2 separate regions of the Homo sapiens genome follow, and region 1 is linked to region 2. Evidence: promoter capture Hi-C in 16 types of primary human blood cells and fetal thymus (Javierre and others, 2016). All regions are on one chromosome and are shown on one strand. Each heading gives the region's core, a stretch centred on a gene start or on the middle of the fragment in contact. The rest is flanking DNA. Distances are from core to core; before and after follow the strand shown.

Region 1 (3,872 bases), core at 578-3,077, 520 kb before region 2:
ATAGGCTGGATGGGGGATGGGTCTTTTCACAGGGATAAACTGCTGGGTCGGCTCCTGTTCTTTGATATTGTGGGCCCCCAAGGTGACATTTATGGAGCTGCACAGAGAGCAGAGTGAGGATGGGGGTGGAGTCACAGGGTATACAGCCCAGAGACAGTGAAGAGCAGGTGACAGCTGGGGCAGGGCTGCAGCTGAGGGGAAATTAAGGGGACAGTCGGTCCCCAGGAATTGGAATTCTGGTAATTGCACCAGGTTTCTCAGGGTTCGGTTCCCCCTAGAAACACAGGTGGAATTGCTTCAGTTTGTATTCTATGCCAAAGTATGCCCCCAGTTCTAAATATGGCAGGCTTGGTCACTCTGCTGTTTCTTACTTCAGCAGCACCTCTGGAACCAACCTTCCCCTCTCTCCACAAACTTAACTGCCCTTTTCTCACCCTCTAAGGAGACCTCCTGGCATGTGTGTTCACAGGAGCCCAGGGAGCTCCTTGGGAAGAAGGCAGGGGTCTCTGTGGAGTGTTTCCAGGAGGGTGTGGGCTGTTTTCTGCTCCTCACCTTCCCCAACAGTGAGCAGCTGTCAGCACGAAGTCGTCTCGTATCAGGAAGCCACCGCACCTCTTCAGAGACTTCTGATCCCAGATCATAAGATAAGCCATGTAGGGGCGGGAGTGGGGCTTGGCCTCATGTCCCCCGATGATCTCCCCTGAAGGAAAAGTCTGTCTGCTTGTGGGCACCCATGGAATCTGCTGGGTGGGCACCTGCTTAGTGGCTCCAGAACTCCTGGGCATTTGGGAGCCTGGGATAGCCTGGAGTTGGGAGTGGCCTGGAGGAAGGGGCTTCAATTTCCTGCTCTGAAAAAGGGAAGAACAGCAGACTTTGGTCTGTAAATCTTTCTTCCATATGTAGTTGAAGGCGAGCATACCTGTCTTAGGGACAGTGAAATCCCAGAGGCTCCTGATCATTCCTCTCCTGACTTTGCTTTGTTTCAGGTGAGTTTCCAAGACCCTTATGAGTCCTGTGGTGTCTAGGATAGTGCTGCTTTCTAATGGCCAGGGTGTAAGTGGAGGGATCTAGATACTGTCATATCCTGTTTCCTAGAGCCTGACATGTAGTGGGTGCCCAGTAAATGTTCATGGCTGCATGATGGACTGGCTCCAGTTAGCCTCTGGATGAGGGCTGGTAGAGCAGTGCTGGTGGAATTCTAGAAAGCAGGGAAGCTGGGGCCTGCCGTAGTGCCTCATCCTTGGAAAGAGGGGAGCCACCAAAGGCCAGGGAAGAAAAGCAGAGTTGGAGAATGGGACTGAGCAAACACATTAACAGTGTTCTGAGGACAGTGATTGTACCAATTCTGCTGTCAGCTGAGCTCTGGGTTTCTCTCCTAAGTAGACAGTGAGAGAAGCACCTGTCTTATCCCAGAAACAGAAGCCAGGCCTACTCTAGAATAATTTAATATTTCTCTTTTCTAGTTTCCCATCCTCTGCCATTTACTTCTAGGAAAGTCCTACTCTCCAGGTGACAAAGGTGGGCTCTGGGGAAGGGATAGTACCCACTGGCTCTTCTTGAGAATGGCCTGCTGCTCTGCCATTCCTGCTGATAGCTTATCCAGCATCACACTTGGGGGGTCTTGGTAGAATGGGAGCTGGAGTTCAGAACATTCCTGGTAGATAGATGGATCAGGAATGTGGAGAAAGGGCAGGAGACCTGTGGGATGGGGTTGGGCCCCCGAGGGTGGAGACGGTCACTCACCTGCATCTGCCCTGGGCAGCAGGAGGAAGGCCAGCAGAAGCAGGATTGGTTGCATCTTCTCAGGAAGGCTGCCCTGGTTGGAGCTGCTGTTGTTTCCTCCTTGCTCTCTTTTAGCTCTTGGGAGAGGAAAGAGGTGGAGCAGGCTCAGTGACTTCATGTTCCCCTCTGGTTTTGTGGTGTCTCATCACAGATTTTCTGTAAATGCTGCCCACCCCCACTGCCTCTGCCTGATGACGTCCTCTGGGTGCTTGTGTGAGAATCATGCAGTGACCACATCATCACCCACAGCTGATGACTCAGAGTGGACCACCTATTCAGCCCAGAGCAGGAACCCAAGCCTATGAAGTGAATTGTAGGATGTGGTATCAGCCAGTAGAGGTACTGGAGCACCAGAAACCTGAGTTCCCAGTGATAGAACCGCCAATGCCTCATGGCCATGCTGCTAAATCCATCAGGATAGTTTCTTTAGCAGGTATGTGTTTGAGCCCTTCTGTTGTGCTAGAACCAAGCATGTTGGAGATGTGTCTCCTTCACTTAGAGAGCTGACCATCTGGTTGAAGAGACGGAAATGCCAGGAGCCAGAGTACAGTTTGGGGAGGGCTATGGTAGCACAATACACAAGGCAGTAACAAAGCATGGCCACCATCTACTAGACCCATCTAGCAACCCATTTATTATCATAGCTTCCTTTCTAGAGAATTTCTAACATCCCTTATTTAGTTACAAATGTTTAGTGTGAGAGTCCACCTCTTTTCTGAATGCTTTCAATAAAAGTCCTGTACTTGACATTTTATTGGGCTAGATTAATGAATTGCTAGGAGTCAAATCCACTTTGGGTAGGCTGGGGTCAGTCTACTCAAGCCACTAGAACCAAGAATGAGAAAGGGCTGGTTCTCTAAAGGACGTTTGTGGTGCTAAATTGCTGATACCATATGAAGTGAGGAAGCATGCCAGGCAGCCAAAGATCAGTAGTTGTGTTGTTTAGTATTCTGTCTCCTGTCCAGAGAGCCACACTTCTTACATAGCAGGCTCAGCACATAACAGGCTCACAGTAAACATTTGCTAAACAAACTACACTAATGCTATCATTATAATGGATGTGAAAGATTGTTGTTTCTGAACAGCCCGTGCCCAATTCTGTTAAAAGACAACTAAGTCTCTCTACATGGTTCGATTCTTGTGATTTGTTTCCACCTTTATATTTTCTGTGAGGAAATTTTTCTATGAGGAATGGTATATCTCAAAATATAGAATTCCAGTGTAAACGTCTTCCTTGTCAATAGCAAGCCAACTACATTTATCAAACTTCTATTTTTTGAACCTAGCTTGCCCCATAGTAGACGTTTTAAAAATAATTTTTTCTGATTATAGTCATAATATATGTTTGTTAAGAAAATTTGGAAAGTAGGAAGGGAAAATATCACTTTTTAACCTGTCTCCCACAGACTGACTGTTACCATAAGCAGTGTGTTTTAAATACTTGGGATCACATTGTACATACAATGCAATTTATTTTATCCTTGATTAACCCTACAAATTAAGCATTTTCCCCATGCTCGTAGAAATCTTAGTCAATACAACTATAGTCTTTCTTTCCTAGGCATTAAAAAATTTAATATGCAAGTAATTTTTAAATAATTTTAGCAAAGCGAAAATAATAAACATTACCTAATTTCTCATCATTCACTGATAACCATCTTTAATGTCTTGAAATATGCTCTAGCACATTTTTTCTCATGTAATATCTGCATTTTTTAAAATTAAAAGGGGATTATGCTAAACATAAGTTTATGACCCATTTAAAAAATTGAGGTAAAATTCACATAACATACAATTAACCATTTTAAAGTATTCAATTCAGTGACATTTAGCACATTCAAAATCTGCAACCACCACCTCTGGATATTTCATATAAACGGAATCACACAATACATGACCTGTTGTGGCTGGCTACATTCACTTGTAATAATGTTTCTGAGATTCATACAAGCTGTAGCACATGCCAGTATTCGTTCTTTTTAATGGAAAAATAATATTCCCATTGTATGTTTATACCACAAGTTATTTGTTCATCTGTCAATGGACATTTGGGTTGTTTTCATCTTTTGGCTATTGTAGCTAATGCAGCA
Region 2 (3,713 bases), core at 552-3,051:
ATATATGAAGAAGCAAACCTTATATTCTTATAGCCACACTATCCATATCCATTTAATTCTACCCCGCCCCCAACAGGTAACCACTTTTTAATTTGTTTATCATTCCAGGGAATAACCCGCATATATGTTTACATATACACTTAGAGTATTTACTTCAAAACACTATCATTAAAAATGTAAATAAATTTTGACTTTTTATTACTTTGTCTGACAGTAAATATGGTCTATGATCTCAGTTTGTTCCATTTTTAAAAAACACAATTTGTAATAATGTATCTTGAGAGTGAATACCCTCATTTGTAAAATTTTTGTTAAAACTTAAATCTTGGCAAGTTTTCCCCTCACTTTCTTACCTTTTATGTAACAATATTGTTAGATAAATCTGTTTAATTTTAAGGCCTGAAGATTCTTTATAAATCATGTAATCTTACTCAAGACATTTTGAGATCAGGAGAAGAGAAGGAGTGTGTTCAGGACCACAGGGTCAATTTGTGGCAGAGCTGGGAGTGGAACAGAGGCCCAGTCCAGAGCTGCCCTCTGCCCACACTCCTGAATACACCCATTGCTGTGAGATGACTCAGATTTATTGTTACCATGGCTGAAATCCATTGGAAAAATGTTTCTGCCATTCATCTCAATCCTCTGCTAGTCATGTGGTTTATCCTTTATAAATGAGGATTTCTTCTTTTTTGTTGACAGTTTCATGATTTTAGTTGTTTCTGCTCTCTTAACATTTGCCCAGTTCAATGATTAATCCTCTGATCTGAGCCCACTTAGACTGGAGTAATATCTTGCCAATGAGAATGAGCAAGTGAATAATTGAAATTTTTATTAAGGATGAAATTTCTTTACTATGTTATATTTATTATATATATGATAGTTTCAACTTTCTGAGTCTCTCTTGTCAAATGCATTCTTTCTCATTATCTCCTTTATAAAATGTTTAATTTAAATGGTCAGTCTTCTGTTCTTATGCAGGAGAATGTCAGCCTGATCCTCAACCAATTAATACCACGTTTCAAGTTGGGTTTGACTTCTACTAACGTAGTAGTCTGACCCCTAGTGGTTATAAGAAACATCTGCACGGCTTGTAAGCAAATTTTGACTGAATTTTCTGAAAAGTGAATATCGGACAATGAATTTCTCCTTGAAAATAAATAAAATAAAAATAAGAGAAGAATTTTGAGTCCATAGAAAAAATAATAGGGAAGTTCAGGTAAAATCATGTTTCTATAAAAATAATTTCAAATCGGTATTTTTACTGATTTTTTAGTATTATGTGATCAGGCTGCACTTATGTAACACATTTATGGTGAACATAACACACTTATGTTCCAGGAATTCATTCTATGTTATTTATTGGAAACAAAGCTTGTTTGCCCCCAAAATTAATGTTTTGTCATTGTCCCAGCATGCCCTTTCTAGTCTGCGTAGAATTGGGATCAAACTTAGAGCTGGATGACATTTTTGTGGTCTGAAGATCAGAGAGCCAGAAAGGACTGGCCACAAAGTGAAGTCACAAAGTGAAATTATCAGTAAATCTAAGCAAACTCTGTCTTTCATGAGGCCCTGAGGTCTAGGAGGGCCTGAGTCACATCAGGAGAGTACAGCCTGCCCTTGATTCTTGGGAGCTGGGAGGCAAAGTCGTGCTGCAGGGGAGAAGGAGGAGGGTCTCAAGAGTGCAGATCCAGAAAGGAACAAACTGTAACAACTATAAATGCAGTATGTGCTTACTGTAAAAATGTCCAAACAGAAGGATATGAAGTAAAAGGTAAAAATTCCTCCTTTTTTTCCAGCCTGAGTTCCGCCAAAACCATAGCCTAGAACTATGTACTTAGACATGCAACCACCAGACATTTTTTTGTGTGCATGCATGTGCGCACGCGCACACACACACACACACACACACACACGCACTGTCTTATTTCACATGGGTTCATGTTATACATATTGTTCTATAAATTGATTTCTTCACTTAATAAAATATCTTGGACATCTTTTCAAGTCAGTATATTCTTATTGTCTGCCTATCTACTGTTCTGATACAAGAATGTGGGCTAATTTATTAACTATCCTTAAGTAATTTACATGTAGATGTTTTTAAAAATTTTCTGCTATATAACCAGTGTTTTAATAAACATCCTAGGGCTTGTAACTACAGACTTATACAAGTATATGTGTGTGTATATATATATATATGGAGTAAATGCCATTAAAATGAAATTTTAGGTCAAAGCTTATGCATAATTACAATCTTGACAGTTAATAAAAGCATATTTTTGAAATTGATATTGTCCCATCTCCCTTTCTTCACTTATTCCTTGTTCCTGGTGCCCCTTCCCAGGCCCTGATGGCTTTATATTTCTCTTTCCCTTAGTCAACCCTGCCCTTTGTCCTTTATGCACATCTAACCTTTTCTTTTGTGAAAAGAATGAAGTCTTCCCCTGTGAATTTCCTCCACTCCCTTTGCTCTGTGTAGATGTGCTGACACTTTTTTCTCTCCCTCTCTCTTTATGCCTCTCAGACAGCTGAGGAAGAAGCACCCTTCTAGCCTCCACCTGTTCACTTTTGCCACATCCCTTCTTATACTTTCTGAGCCCTTCTCCCATCAGGTATCCCTTAATGCTTCTTTAATCTCTCCTTTTTTACTTCTTGTTTCTACCTGGTTATAAAATGGTATCCTCTATCCTTTAAGCCATGTTTTCCATAGGCTGTCTTCTAAACACTATTTTAGGAGGTACTCAGTGGAAAAAATAATCATTTCGTCAAATAAATTTGAGTCATTCATATACTGTTAACTTCCTTTTGAATATTTAGAACTCACAGTAGCTTGTTAAAGGTGCTGAGAAGTTCTGCAGTAATGAAAAGACATCTGCTTACCTTTGCTTACTCTGTATATCCCTAAATTATTTTACCATAAAACCTACCCTTTCCCTTTTTAATCTTCTGTAATGTTTTTTAATATCTATAGATACCTTTTGGGAAATTTTTCTTGTCTCTGCAACTCTAAATTCTAAAGCTAAGGTTTTTTAACTCTGCCAAATTCCAAAGCTAAGGTTTTTTCTTCTATTTTTTAAATTAAAAAAATTTTTAAATGGGTAGATAATCATACATATTTATGGGGTACGTAGTGATATGACAATACAAACAATGTGTAATGATAAGATTGGAGTAATTAGCATATCCATCATTTCAAATATTTATCATTTCTTTGTGTTAGGAGCATTCAATATCCTCCTTGTAGCTATTTGAACCTTTATATTGTTATTAACTATAGTTACCTACAGTGCTATAGAATTTTAGAACTTAGTCCTCCTATCTAGGTATAATTTCGTATCCTTTAACAAATCTCTCCCTACCTCCCATCCCTTTTCCCCTACACTTCTTAGCCTCTAGTATCCTCTGTTCTACTTTTTACCTCTATGATGTTAACTTTTTTTAGCTTCCACATATGAATGAGAACATGTGGTGTTTAACTTTTTGTTCCTGGCTTATTTCACTTAACATAATGTCCTCCAGTTCCATCCATCAAATGTCATATATATACATGATATGGTTTGGCCATGTTCCCATTCAAATCTCAATTTTAATTGTATCACCCGGAATTCTCACGTGTTTTGGGAGGGACCCAGGGTGAGGTACTGAATCATGGGGGCTGGTCTTTCCTGTGCTGTTCTTGTGATGGTGAATAAGTCTCATGAAATCTGATAGGT

The links. The method cuts DNA at HindIII sites, captures the fragments that hold promoters and counts their contacts. A CHiCAGO score of 5 or more calls a contact.
Region 1: the fragment with the promoter of GZMB here is called in contact with a fragment that was not itself captured in region 2 in 5 of 17 cell types (total CD8 T cells, total B cells, naive B cells and 2 more); the score reaches 9.6 in total CD8 T cells.

Annotation. Positions count from the first base shown.
Region 1 is chr14:24,632,363-24,636,234 of GRCh38, forward strand. It overlaps GZMB (granzyme B), which reads right to left and starts at 1,828. Exons shown (of 5, transcript NM_004131.6): 1 at 1,744-1,828; 2 at 553-700; 3 at 1-97. The coding sequence starts at 1,798. It overlaps GZMH-AS1 (GZMH and GMZB antisense RNA 1), which reads left to right and starts at 740. Exons shown (of 3, transcript XR_007064087.1): 1 at 740-986; 2 at 1,934-3,872. RefSeq lists an enhancer at 1,207-2,406. The HindIII fragment of the contact is 9,884 bases long and covers 1-3,872 here.
Region 2 is chr14:25,150,060-25,153,772 of GRCh38, forward strand. The region is part of intron 2 of LINC02286 (long intergenic non-protein coding RNA 2286); the gene reads right to left. Among named protein-coding and RNA genes, the nearest start is that of LINC02286, 4.3 kb to the right of the region's middle. The HindIII fragment of the contact is 865 bases long and covers 1,370-2,234 here.